Linked DNA regions of Homo sapiens: all the other regions are linked to region 4. The links are contacts of gene promoters, found by promoter capture Hi-C in human tissues and cell types (Jung and others, 2019). All regions are on one chromosome and are shown on one strand. Each heading gives the region's core, a stretch centred on a gene start or on the middle of the fragment in contact. The rest is flanking DNA. Distances are from core to core; before and after follow the strand shown.

What was found. The method cuts DNA at HindIII sites, captures the fragments that hold promoters and counts their contacts. A contact is called where the count stands out against the background at its distance.
Region 1: a contact is called between a fragment that was not itself captured here and the fragment with the promoter of S1PR1 in region 4, in 1 of the 25 tissues and cell types used here (small bowel).
Region 2: a contact is called between a fragment that was not itself captured here and the fragment with the promoter of S1PR1 in region 4, in 1 of the 25 tissues and cell types used here (thymus).
Region 3: a fragment that was not itself captured here is called in contact with the fragment with the promoter of S1PR1 in region 4 in 2 of the 25 tissues and cell types used here (lymphoblastoid cells and spleen).
Region 5: a fragment that was not itself captured here is called in contact with the fragment with the promoter of S1PR1 in region 4 in 1 of the 25 tissues and cell types used here (lymphoblastoid cells).

Annotation. Positions count from the first base shown.
Region 1 is chr1:100,875,417-100,878,213 of GRCh38, forward strand. It overlaps EXTL2 (exostosin like glycosyltransferase 2), which reads right to left. Exons shown (of 5, transcript NM_001033025.3): 3 at 2,060-2,487; 4 at 1,378-1,448. Among named protein-coding and RNA genes, the nearest start is that of EXTL2, 18 kb to the right of the region's middle. The HindIII fragment of the contact is 3,736 bases long and covers 1-2,797 here.
Region 2 is chr1:100,954,800-100,957,499 of GRCh38, forward strand. The region is part of intron 8 of SLC30A7 (solute carrier family 30 member 7); the gene reads left to right. Among named protein-coding and RNA genes, the nearest start is that of SLC30A7, 60 kb to the left of the region's middle. The HindIII fragment of the contact is 6,198 bases long and covers 1-2,700 here.
Region 3 is chr1:100,972,990-100,975,689 of GRCh38, forward strand. SLC30A7 (solute carrier family 30 member 7) reads left to right here. Exons shown (of 11, transcript NM_133496.5): 11 at 1,821-2,700. The coding sequence ends at 1,868. Among named protein-coding and RNA genes, the nearest start is that of DPH5, 51 kb to the right of the region's middle. The HindIII fragment of the contact is 4,137 bases long and covers 1-2,700 here.
Region 4 is chr1:101,235,769-101,238,495 of GRCh38, forward strand. It overlaps S1PR1 (sphingosine-1-phosphate receptor 1), which reads left to right and starts at 1,251. Exons shown (of 2, transcript NM_001400.5): 1 at 1,251-1,331. S1PR1-DT (S1PR1 divergent transcript) reads right to left here and starts at 760. Exons shown (of 2, transcript NR_104626.1): 1 at 557-760; 2 at 1-113. RefSeq lists an enhancer at 341-430. The HindIII fragment of the contact is 36,645 bases long and covers 1-2,727 here.
Region 5 is chr1:100,901,512-100,904,211 of GRCh38, forward strand. All of the region lies in intron 2 of SLC30A7 (solute carrier family 30 member 7), which reads left to right. Among named protein-coding and RNA genes, the nearest start is that of SLC30A7, 6.8 kb to the left of the region's middle. The HindIII fragment of the contact is 3,955 bases long and covers 1-2,700 here.

The DNA of each region.
Region 1 (2,797 bases), core at 166-2,665, 360 kb before region 4:
TGTGTTGCTGGGAGGCAAAGGGGAAGGTCAGGGGATGGGGGATAAAGGCTGGGAGGTTTCAGAGAAGATGCGCTATTTATACAATCTAGGAGAATGAAAGAAATTTCACAATTGGCTAGAGAGGGAAAAGGGAAAACACTAAAAGTGGAGGTAATGGGCAAATACAAAGACACAGATGAATGTCTACTCGAATCTTGCTTGCTTATACACAAACCTCAGATCATTATGCTATGCAGGGTTTGGGTTGGACTGAATTTAAGTTGGTCAATGGACTGAAATTGTTTTTGATATTTTTAAAAATAAAACCTGAAATCATATTTATATATCTTTAATTTATAGTTTACTCAGATGGTTCCAATTAACCACAGTCCCCATATTCTGCCTCCATTTTTACATTTTGGGCAAATGGATTTTTAAGCATCAATAGAAATCTCACAGTTGAATTATCACATTAGAACTTTTTGTCCAAGAAGCTTTCATGTATTTCATTTCATTCCAAGGACTGGAAAAAAAAATTGTTGATATGGAAAAATTTCGTTGGTCAGCACACTAGGCATGAAATTAAAAACTGAAGTTTTAAAAATGCTGATATCTGCTGAGTATTGTGATCACTTACCATTAATATCGAATGCTGTTATATCCCAAGAAGCTAATTTTAAAAGTTACCATGGCATAAATTCGATCATTTACTGGGTAGCACAGTGTTTAATTATTTGACACGGCTTCGAAGTACTTCCATGCAGTTCCGGTTTCAGGTAATGGCAGTGCAACTTGTAAAAGTTAGCTATTACTAACACATATTCAATAGGAGAGAGCGGCTTTTATAGGATACTGACCAATTTATGCCTGCTTATTCAAGCTATGATTTAGGAAAAAACAAAACAAAATAAAACAAAACCCTCCTACCACAATGGTACATGTAAAATTATTACTGCAAAATTTCTAAACAATGCTCTCAGAACCAGGATTAAATTTTGTGGAGGTAATAAATACTTCCTTTTACAAAAAGTTATACACATTATTAACATAGAAATAGGCTTATCATTTGAGACACATGTCTGTGGTCTAGGCAAAACATCTCCTCATTCTAGTTTTTGCTGGACCACATCATTTCCCCATTGTTCTCTGGAAGGCAGTTCTAGCTCTTTTCCCCAATACACCAAAATATAAATTAAATCTAGATAAAAGATACTATAACTTTCAGGATGGCTGAACTAAGCTCAGAAAATCTTGATTAGCCTATAACAAATTCATCCATCTTTTAGATAAATATTATCTAAAATATTTTAGGTAACTTCTATATTAACCATGTTGCCGTGGTTAAGTACTAGTCAAGATCTTATAAAGACGGTTTCATAAAAGAGACAGCAACATTACCTGCCAAACTGAGAAAGCAAAAACAAGGTCTGGGGTGCTGATGAGTGTGTCATCATCTACCATCAACACTGCTAAAATGAAAGGACAAAAATTTAAGTTGAATAGTTCGGAAATGAAAACAAAAGTAGTAAAATACAATAGTGTCTATATAGATCATTCAAATGAAGTATTTTCTGACCCAACAATAAATAAGCAATGTATTCTTGGGGAGATTTGTCCAGTAGAAAATAATTTTTTTGGTATCATAACTGATTGTATAACTGCCTGAAGGGAAAATAATCAAGCAGTTATTATCCATCATCCTAGAAACTATTGGGCCTATAAATGAATAAAGCCAAGATTCTTTTAAGCAAATTGCAACCTCATGAAACTGTCAGGAATGGGAGGAAAAGAGGAGTGGCAAAAAAATATATTAAGCATAAGCTAAATGGCATCTTACTATCAACTGTAATGCAATCATATGTAATTATAGCATATCCTTTATTACAATATTAACCTCTTCGCCAGGAAACCACTTCTTGACATCTTGGAAATTGTCCCTCAAGCTTTCCAAAGTGCTTTCTTAGGACTAACTTCCTTCATTTTTCTCCAGACGGTTAAGCAGAAGGCCAGAAATTCACATGTCTGTCCCAGCTCTGGACAGCGGCAGCCTTTCCAGGCTGAGAACTACACTGCAACTCACCATTGGTTTCCAGTTCAGGAAAGACCTGGAGTCGATTTCTCATCCTGTTTGCTGTCTGTTGTTTGAAGATCACAGGGATAGGGTGGGGCCCTAGAGAATTCCATAATTCATCTGGTGCCTTCTCTCCAATATTGTTCCATACCACAATCACTTTGTGCAGATTTGGTACAGCCTGATAATGATTTAAAAGTTTCAATAAGAGATCTGTTCTGTTGTACGTCTGCATTATGAGAGTAAAGGAGTCCATGGTGGACTTGCCCTGGGATTTTATTTCCCTACGCAACATGAGCATCTTGTCTTCTTTAACACTGGGAAGTAAGGCAGTCAAAGCACCAGCTACCAGTAATAATACGAGGATGACCACCAAAGATAATCGAAGCACTCGAATCCCCATTACTCTCCCAGGAAGTTTGCAGATGTGGCAACACCTGGAGTAGAAATGGAAACAACATACAAATGTTAGCATTCTTACGAGTCCCTGTGTTTTCATGTTTTTTTCCAATGAGGAAAGATATCAATCTTATTTTAGTTGATTCAAATTCAGTTCTCCCTTCCTCCTCAATAAGGTAATTTGGCCTAAGAGATTTTAAAAAACCAGTTTAATATTCCCTTCCTTCTTGCCCTGCTTGTTACGCAGTTGCAGACAAAAGATGTTATACACACAAAATTGGAAAAATTAAGCATTTAAAAATTTGCCATCATTTTATCACTATATCTCCAGAACTGAGATTATTTTTC
Region 2 (2,700 bases), core at 14-2,513, 280 kb before region 4:
AATTATATTTATGCAAATGTGACTGAATATTTAATTTAAATGTGAATTGCGTTACCATTATGGGCCAGTTTTCTTTGGCTTTTTTGTCCCCTGAAAATATGATATACAACATAAGCCAAATTTATTTTTAAAATTTATTTTTAAAACTATAATTTTCTTTCTTTGTGTTTGTAGATTGTAAGAACCCCTACAATATATAGGAAAACTTAGCTCATAAGCTGATTCATCAAGATGAATCTGTAATCTTGTTTTAATTAATATTACTTGACATTTATTCTCAGATCTAAGTAATAATTTTAACTGAAATTTTTTATTGTTAAACATTGTGATTGTCAGTAGACTGTTCTTCAGAAGTTTTCGTAATGCATACCCTTTTTTGTTTGGTTTGTTTATAATTACTGGTAGATAATTTTATTTACTGTTGAAGTAGTGAGGCTCTTTCACTAAAAGCTGCTTCTGAAGTAAGATTTGAATATATTTTTACTTGTAAAAAATTACTGGCAGTAAAGAGTAATAAGTAACTACTGCTTATTTAATCTGTTAGCATTTAAGGGTAAAGCTTTCAAATTAATATTATGTTTATGATTGTAAGATTATAACTGTGATTTACCTTCAGCTTTTGAAGAATAAAATCATTGCCCTGTTTTACTGGTAAACTCATACCTAATGACTCATCTCTTTTTATTTATGATAGGGAAATGGTGCTTCATTGTGAATGCTAGAATTGGGTTAGTCAACCAGAAGTGAACCTCTAATTGTTTCCAAATGCTTACTTTTTGGGTTTGGATGTAGCTCTAAGTCTTAGCTCAGTCAGGAATTTGCTAAGCTTGTCGTTTTCTACATTTCCTTTCATTATGGCTAGATAGATCCAAGCTAAAATCTGGTTTATGCTTCTCTATTACAATAGTTAATCAGAAAAATATGGACACAAACTCCTGAGCTAAACACAATTTTAAAAGGCAAAAACTAGAGTTTCTAAAGGTTTCTTTTACATTTTTATGACTCTTTAAATTATTATAGAAATTGGCCTTGTTCTAAATTGTGTATCACCGTGTGATTTAGCAAGTACCTTTATTCTCTACCATAGTTTTATGACCTAGTTATTGCTCCTACAGCTGAAATTCTTGCATTATTTTTAAATTGCTATTGGAGAAAGTTAGTGTGACATATCCATTTGCTTTGGTGAAATGCTTGCTGCTGTTGAGTGTAAAGATTTTATTAAAATTCTACCTAAAAAGACAACCATTCCAAATTTCAGTATAAGCAAATCAATAAAAACCACAATTGATCCTAATGAAAAAAAGAGATAAAAATGCACTATAATTTTATTTCCTTATATCAGTGATGATGTCTTATAATTTAGTTAATTTTAAAATATATGTTTATTTCTAACATTTTATTAAAATGTTTATCTACATATTGTTCTTGAATGGTGTTAAAATGAGTGATCTCTAAATTTCCTTTTAATTCTAATATGATATTATTTGTGATCATGTAACTTCTTTACTAATTCTAGAGTCCTCAAACTAAGGGCCTCATGTGAAAGCGAATTTTAGGAGGAAAAAAGGAAGTACTAGGTTATTTTTTAAAAAGGTGGTGGCAGGGAGTAGCAGACTTTGGAAGGCAACACACATGGAATACACACATAAAAATTTGAACAAAGATTTGGATAAATCTGTAGATGTTTTTTCTAGGTGACTTATTAAGAGACTGTTGGACTGTCTAAGGGAATGTCTTTAATGTTTTAAGGCTGATCTCCTCAAGGATTATTATAGATGGGATTCACCATCTGTTACTGTGTTTAGCTCCTTGGGGGAAACAACTAGACTAAACCTGAATATTCTAAAACAATAAATTTTTAAAAGTTGTTCACAAAAGTTATTCACACCTATTGCTTAAGTAATGTTATTTCTCATACTGTATGCCTTCTGTTGCAGTTGAGTCAGTGCCTCTTCTATTCCTTTTTCTCTTCCCCTTTACTTTTAAAGGTATGTTTAAAAAGAAGTTATCAACATACCAATTAAGAAAACCATTTACCAAAAGTTCATGGAAAATGAAAATGGATACAAGCATAATATGTAGTTGCTTTAAATTCATATGTGCCTTCTTCTAAATGGTTGGCCCTAAATAAGTTTGATGACTGATTTCCATTGCCTTCTCTGCAGGCTTATTAAAAATAAAGTTATGAATTTCTCTGAGATGAAATATTCTATATTATTTATTTTTGTATTTCCAGTGTCTAGCACATGCTTGCTACATGGTTGGCATATAACAGATGTTTGTTGACTTGAACTTTTCAAAACTGAACTTGGAGTCTAACGACCTGATCTGTTCTAGTTCTCCTGCTTAATAGCTGTGTCCTTAAACAAGTTACTTTGGTGCTCTAGGTCACCATTGCCACAACTCGAGAGTAAGGTCCCACCTGGTTCCAGAAAATCTGATGCCAGATATATAGTAGTAGATCCTTAATAATCGCTTAATATTGATTGCTTAATAAAATTCATTTGCTGGATTTTCTATCATGATAGAATAAATCATTTTGCCAAGTATATCTATGTGTCATTTGGTGACACTGCTTTTTTCCCCTTAGTATATAAAAACAATTTATATTTTCTTTCATTTCCAAATATATTCTCTCTCTAGTATTCTTTATAGTTTAACCACTTTTTCTTATTGAATGGAAAATATATAAAAGATGAA
Region 3 (2,700 bases), core at 52-2,551, 260 kb before region 4:
CTGAGGAGAGGATGCTATTAAATATATTTTTCTTAAATTTGAATAACAGAGGCTTTAACTTTCCACAGGAAAAAAAAAAAGAAAAAAAAGGAGAAGCACCAGCAAAATTAAAATATATTTCTTTTGCTGACAAGCTTCTAGAGCCTGCAAGCCTTTTATCCATTCGAGTAGTTCCTGAATCCTTTCAAGCACTCAGTATTGTACAGAGCCCTCCTACCTGAATTCTAGAAAAAAAGCCAAGCTAGGAAACAGTGCTTTGAGGAGTCCAGAAATTACTGTAAGAAGGTAGTGCTAATAGATTTTTTCCTCACTCTGATTTTTTTCCTATTAAATATTCCAATTTACCTTTTATTCTGTGGTACTGAGAAGAAAGGGCTTATTGTGACTAATGGGTTCCTTTAATTAAAAATAGATCATTTTGGGTTGAAAGAAGGAAATTAGTAGAATTTTAGTTAATTCAACAAATACTTATTGATCACTTACTGTGTGCTGGCTCTCACTTGAGGTTCTAGGAGTCAGCAATGTAAAGAAGAAGACCAAATCCTTTATCTCGGAGACATTATATTATAGTGAGAGGTCAATAATAAACAATAAACACCGTGAATAAGTTGTATAATACATCGCAAGGTGATAAGTTTACTGGGAGTGCTGAGGTATTTACCAGCTCTTGTACCAAGCTTTATTTTTTTCTTTAGCCTTTGGCGATTTCAGTTTTCAGAGAGGAGGAAGAACTAGCAGAGAAGACTGAGAAAGACTGATAAGTGAGGTAAAAGGGCAGCCAGTGAATATTCTCTGGAAGCCAAAAGGGAAAATATATATATCTATAGGCAGGAGTGACCATCTGTATTATTGCTGATAGGTGAAGTAGGAAGAAGAGGCCTGAGAATTGGATATTAATGTAAGCAATGTGGAAGTGACCTGGACACAGTTTGGGGGAAGTGTTGGGAAGCAAAAGATTGGTTGAAATGAGTTCAAGAGAGAAGTGAGAAAAAGGATTTTAGACAGCAAATATGGATAACTCTTTTGAGGCTTTTTGCTGTAAAGAAGAGCGGAGATGGGGAGCCCAGAAGGGGATGTAGGGTTAAGTAAAGATTTTTGTTGCTTTTTGTTGTTGTTTTAAATAGCTTTAGGGGGTACAAGTGCAGTTTTGTTACTAGGATATATTGCGTAGTAGTGAAGTTTGGGCTTTTAGTGCAACTATCACCTGAATAGTGTACATTGTACCCAAAAGATAATTTCTCATGAGGTTTTTTCAAAGATAGAAACAGCTACAGTGTGTTTGTATGCTAATAGAAGTGATCTAGTTGAGAGGAAGTAAATTGATAATACAGAAGATATTGGGGAGAATTTAGAGAGCAGTATCCTTGAGTAGCAAGTTCATATCCAAAACAGAAGAGAGAACTTGGAGTGCAAAATAATTCCAATAGATGGTTATACTTGCTAAATTGTTTACTAATCATTTATCACAGGAGGATTTAGACAGGGTTGATGTATCAATTTCAACTAGGAGCCAACCAGTCAAGCATCATGGTGTCCTCTAACAGAGTAACTGTAGAAGGTGAACTGCATTTTTCTAAGTATCACCTGGATATCTGGATAGGGTGTGTGACTGTTAACATGGCTCTTTTTTTTTTGTTTGTTTTTTTGTAGTGGTAAATGGAGATTATTTTTTGTAGCTTATGAATATATTTGTTTCTGAAATGATTCTTTTCTTTTTTTAAAAAAGTGAGATTTGTAAAAGAAAAAAAATACTTTCCTGAAATGTGTAGGGTGTTATTAGCTTGTTAGATTTTCTAACTTTTTTTTTTCTTACTTTTCAGGCTGGAGTGAGACAGCTCTACGTACAGATTGACTTTGCAGCCATGTAGTGAATGGAAAGAAATTATGCACCTTTTATGGACCAAATTTTTCTGGTACTGTACGATCCAAAACATTGTACCCAGCTTTTTAAAAGAGAGAAATTATCACTACAACTCCCGAGCACTAAGTAGACGGGGTAGAGTCAGCCGTTCATGCTTTGTGGGGAGTTCACAGCTAAGGGATCAGATTTAAGAGGATATCTCCTGGACTTTTGGTCTTTTCTTTTGTGCTCTTTCCTCCAAATCTTTTTGACTTCTGAGGTTTTTAGCTTAGGATGTTAATTTGTCCTTTTGTCTTTCTTTTTTTGTTTTTGTTTTCTGTTTGTTTGTTTTCATGTTGAATGCCCACACCACCATCCTCTCATCCCAGCCAGTAAGAATTTCAGTTGTGGGCCTCCAGTCTTCTGGAATGTCTTCACTGCAGCTGCTGGAAATCACTGCTTTCATTCCCACAAAACCAGTATTACTTTTTTTTAAAAAAAGAAAGAAATTGGAAATCTGTGCTATACGTAATGTCATAATTGTTGACGTTCTTCAGTATAATCATGTTTGTTAAATTGTTTGTACCTTGCAAACTTATGAACCAAACCATATTGGGTTTTCAAAGTGCCTTTGTATCCAAAAATGTATTTGCCAGCATAGAAATGTACCATCAAGAGTCATGTATGTTTTATTTTTGTTTTTATTTTTTATTTTTTGAGATGGAGTCTCGCTCTGTAGCCAGGCTGGAGTGCAGTGGCATAATCTCAGCTCACTGCAACCTCTGCTTCCCGGGTTCAAGCTATTCTCCTGCCTCAGCCTTCTGAGTAGCTGCGACTATGGGCGTGTGCCACCATGCCCA
Region 4 (2,727 bases), core at 1-2,500:
TGGGTGGAAACTTTTACAACAGTAATGCAAGGGCAGAAGCGTCCTGTCCTGAGCTTGTCACGCAGGCAGATCTGACCAAGTCCGCCTCTCAGCCTCACGTTCTTAAGTAGCATCTAAGCAAAAGAAAAGGGTGGGCAAAGTGCTAGTAATGAGATTTGAGGCCTCTGAGTCGACTCCCAAGCAGAATGTGAGAGAAGGGTGCCGGCTCCTGCTGGGCAGCTGCAGTTGCTCCGCAGCTCCTGGCCGAGAATCTCCCCCTTTGGAAATTCCTGAGCTGCCCAGGCGTTTTGAATCTCTCAGGACTCAGCAGCAGCCCACCCCCTCAACGACCTCTCCATTGGCCAGAATCTGGGACACACAGCCTGACTTTGTGCTCAGCTGAGGGAAACCCCTCGCCCAACACCAAAACCGGCGCTGGTTCATTTCTCTGTGCACTCTGGGAAAGCCACTGCCCCTCAGACCGCAGTTGCGAGTAGCACGAGGATCTGGGGTGGCGGGGGGAGTACAGGAACCTCCCGGTTCATTCTCCCTCCCGGGCTGCTTGTCTCCTCCGTACCTCTCGCAGCCCCTTCCCAGCCTCTCCTCCCCAGAGCGCCGCCGACACTCGCCGGGCCGCGGCTCAGGTTTTCTGCTGCTCGCGCGAAAGTGGCTCGGGGAGCTCCTGGCCACAAGCTCAGCACACCGATCCTCCTAGGGCTGCGGGGGGTGTGGGACCAGGGCGGTGCGCTACGAGACTCCGGGCCGTCCTCTGCCTCCTCAGACTTTTCGAGAGAAAAGTTTTCAAAGTCTCTCCACCTTTTTTTTTTTTCAGGGGCTCGGGAGAATCCTCTCCACAGCCAGGGATCAGCGTCTATCTGGGCGAGGGCAGTGATTTATACAGTAGAATCCAGGGGTTACCGGGCTCCGCCCCTTCTCTCTCTCTCTTTTTTTCTTTCATTTGTTGTTTGGGGAGGAGGGGTTCTTTTTTTTTTTTTTTTTTTTTTTTTTGCTTCTGCCCCAGATCTTTCCTGGACAGTGCGTCTCAGCAGTTCAGATCCGGGGGCCCCCAGCTGACAGAGGGCGTGGGGGGTTAAGGCATTAACCCCTCCCAGCCTCTTCCTGAAGAAACCACCCAGCCTTGGCGCGGCGCTGGGTGACTTCGCGTAGCAGGCAGGGAACTGGCCGCGGCGAGCGGGACTGGCCATTGGAGTGCTCCGCTGCGGAGGGAGGGGACCCCGACTCGAGTAAGTTTGCGAGAGCACTACGCAGTCAGTCGGGGGCAGCAGCAAGATGCGAAGCGAGCCGTACAGATCCCGGGCTCTCCGAACGCAACTTCGCCCTGCTTGAGCGAGGTAGGGGGCGGCGAATGGCGGGGGTCGCGGGCGCGGGGAGCCCGGTTGTGGTAGGGCTTAGGTGTCAGAAACGAATTTTTAAGTCGAACGAGGCAAACAAAAACTTAGAAAACATGCATCTCCGGGCGCTGAAAATTTGCATCTCTGGGCTACTAAGGAGCCCATCTCGATCAGATTGTTCTTGGGCACTTGTGATTTATGGAGTTCAGAAAAAAGGTTAATTCCCAACTGTGGAACCTACGGGTGTAGGGGCAGTGAAAATTGCAGTTGGTCGGAGGAATAGGAGGGAAGGCGTTAAATTTTGGAAATCCTATAGACAAAGAATATGGTGGGTGGTGTGGAGCGTGGGTAATGGCTTAAATTAGTACTGCCCAGGAGCAGGGTATAAAATTAGTTGGGGGAAAATGCGGAGCTTCTTGGCTTGAGCAGCCTCTGCTGTTCGCGGAGTTGCTGGGATTGTTCTCATCTCTATTACCTCATTTTATTGCATTGCTGCATTACCTTGAAATATTTAAGCAACTTAGAAGTAGACTTCTGCTGACCAGTGCCGTCTTAGAAAGTTTCTTTGTAACTTTCTAGTCCTAGGAGAGGAGTCAACGTGTTGGGGGACTGCAGTAAATAAAACTGCCCACGCAAATTTAGCAATGCACCAGGGAGCAGTTTAATGTGAGTTTCTGAAGAGTAGTTTTGCAATCGAAATTAGAAATGTGGTAGCATGTATTATGGCTGTCATGAGTAGTTTGATTTCTCTCTTTTGTGTATGTTTTGGCTAAACTAAACAAAGCAAAAAATATTTATGCAATCAACTAATGTACGAAACTTCTGGGATTTGCTGCAATCTGTTATGAATGGTTTTAACTGAATACCTTTAAATTTACTTGCCCTGGCTTGGGGTGGGGGGTGGGGTGGGGGGGCGCGGGGGGAGGCGGGGAGAATAAGAAGAAGAAAGAAAAGGCAGTCGCTTCACGGAGGCGCTAAGCTTTCCTGTTTACAGCAAGGCGGGGCGGGCCTGGCTGCCCACACCTCACTGCGCCCTCGGACCCTAAGCACACCTGCTCCTAGAGAGTTATTAATAGAGCCCCCAAATGGCTTACGCTTTCAAATGATTTTCCTGCAAATCTGATTTCTTGCATGGCACATGGCAATTAGGAGGTGGTGCTAGTATCTTTGAACTGGGGGGCTGGGGGTGGGCATGGGGGACAGAGGTGTGTGTCTTCGCCCTCAGACTGGCAGTTGAGTCTTTTCCGAGGAGAGACGTGGGCTGGTATTGAGCGTGCAGCTAAGCTGGTGACTGCTTCAGAGAATCTCATGGCTGGAAATCCGGGGGTGAGGGGGTGTGGGGTGGTGAGAGGGCAGGAGTGGAGTTAAAATGGGGTGTAGTTCTCTAGGTTTCCCA
Region 5 (2,700 bases), core at 67-2,566, 330 kb before region 4:
TGGCGCGATCTTGGCTTACTGCAACCTCTGCCCCCTGAGTTCAAGCAATCCTCCTGCCTCAGCCTCCCAAGTAGCTGGGAGTACAGCCACGCCTGGCTAATTTTTGTATTTTTAGTAGATGGGAGTTTCTCTATGTTGACCAGGCTGGTCTTGAACTTCTGACCTCAGGTGATCCACCCACCTCAGCCTCCGGAAGTGCTGGGATTATAGGCACGAGCCACTGCACCCGGCTGGTTTTCCATGTTAAAATGTCTTTAGAAGGTAGTCATTTAAAAGAGTTTACAAATACATTTTAGAGAAACTAGCAGTGCTTAAAGAGGAGTCTACGACAAGTAAGTGGATTTTCACAACCAGCTTTACTTTATCATGGTTTACTGAAGTTACCTTTGGTGTTTCAGTCATGTAACCTTAGGTATTCTCTATGCTACCTTTATTTTTTAAGGAAATTTATAGTTTAAATTTATAGTTTAAATATAATTCATAATCAGAAACATTTGCTAAGATTGAATATGAGCAGTAAAATTGACCTTCCTCATAAGCAATATTTTTACATGTGATAGGTCAGCAGAGAGCTAAAAGTAGACTGTTTTTCCCATGAGTTTGTGTATTTGCAGCTAGGTAATTTTTAAATCATGATATCAAGTTTAAGGGAAAAGATCTCATATTGCAGTGTTTTAAGAGAACATAATGTTCTTCCATCTCAGAAGAGGGAGTAGTTTTTCAGGTAGTCACATTTTATTAAGTACTAAAAATAACATTTTAATGCTAATTAAATTTACTTAAAATTTAAATAAAATTTCATTTTGATGAGTATTAAAATTGCCGTGCTATATCCACACCTCTTTAAAAGGAACCTGACTGCTATTCTGTGCAAAAGGAATTTTTATTTTTATTTTTATTTTTTGCATTATGGCAATATTTGGTTTATGTTGGGTGCATATAAAGTAAATTTGTTGAAAAAAAGGAGTGTGTGTTAGTTTGCTAGTCTGGTGTAATAAAACACCACAAACTAGGTGGCTTAAACCACAGAAATTTATTGTCTCACAGTTCTGGAGATTAGAAGTCAGAGATCAAAGTGTCATCAGGGTTGATTTCTTCTGAGAGCTCTGAGGAAGAATCTGTTCCATGATCTTTCTGTAGCTTCAGTTGGTTTTCTAGTAATCTTGGACAGTCTTTGGCTTGTAGGAGCATCACCTGATCTCTGCCTTATCTTCGCATTGTGATCTATGTATCTTCTTCCAAATTTCTCTTTTTTATAAGGACACTGGATGAGGGCTCACCTTAATGACCTAATATTAACTAATTATATCTGCAATGAGTCCATTTCTAATAAAGTCACGTTCTCAGGTACTAGAGGTTAGGACTTCAACATATGAATTTGGGCGCAGGAACACAATTCAACCCATGACAGTGTTTTACTAAATAATAGTGAAATAGATAGTAAAATATAGATCAATAAATCAGTAAATGTTTGTTTATATTTATTTACAATGAATGCCCTGCCTTCTAAAACTGATTACAGTAATTTAAAATAAAAGCTATATATACTAATAAAACACATTAAGAAATAAAAACATTTAGAAACCATACCTAGGGAGGAAAAAATTAATCTATTAAATATATAGTCTAATTTAGCTCCCAAAATTGACTTTTAAATTTAGTTATAAAATTCCATAAAGTGAACACAACTCTATCATTTTATCAGAGTAGAAAGACAGTTTTCTGAAATCAAATTTTAACAGTATTTTGCCATATTAATCTTTTCTTGGGGGATCGAAAACAAAATCATAGACAATGTCTTTATTAATGGTTTTATCACAGTATAGAGAAATTCTTCACATGAGTCTTTCATACTTCAAAATAAAGTTAAATCATTATTTTCCATGTTACATAGATGTTATGGTTCAAGTGTGTAATTTTCGGTAATCTAACTATACAAGGACAAATCTTAAAATATTAAATCTAAGAGAATTGCATGAATAATATGCCCCTTACCTTGTCCTCATGTATCAGTTTTATTATTCTGCTTTATCATTTATTCACCAATTCTCATTCTGCTTTGAGTTAGATGTCAGATGAGATGGTTAAAGTACTATCTGCACTTAAACTTTCTAATATATCTATATTTCAGTGGAATAAATAAGGTTCATGATAAAAGTTTAAGACATTTTCTAAAATCTTTTGTAATGATTTGGCAGAGGTTTATAAATTATTGTGCTTTTTCTTGTTGGTAAATGATGTGCTTTGACTTAGTTTCTAATTATATAATTATTCCAAATTATGAGAAAAATTTAAAACCATGCTTTTTCTGTATGTGTGAAGAATGTTTTTGACTTTTAGTTTGTAGCACTTCCAACTGATGAAAACTCTAGCATCTAGCCAAATATTAAGAGGTATGGGTTGTGCTTGGGAACACCAGGTATTATAAGCATTAATAATAGTTAATAATTAATAATGTGATTTATTAATAATTAGCAATAGGAATATTAATGTGGTTTTAATGTGACAAGCATTGTGGTAAATGTTTCATATATATTAACTCAATTATTATAACAATTATGACACTTTTATACTATACTCTATTGAAGTGATGGCTAAATTGAGGCACAAAGAAGTTAAGTAACTTACTGGTCACGGAACTAGTAAATTTGGAGCTGGGATTTGAACCCAGGTACTCTGACTTCAGAAGCTTGTTTTTAA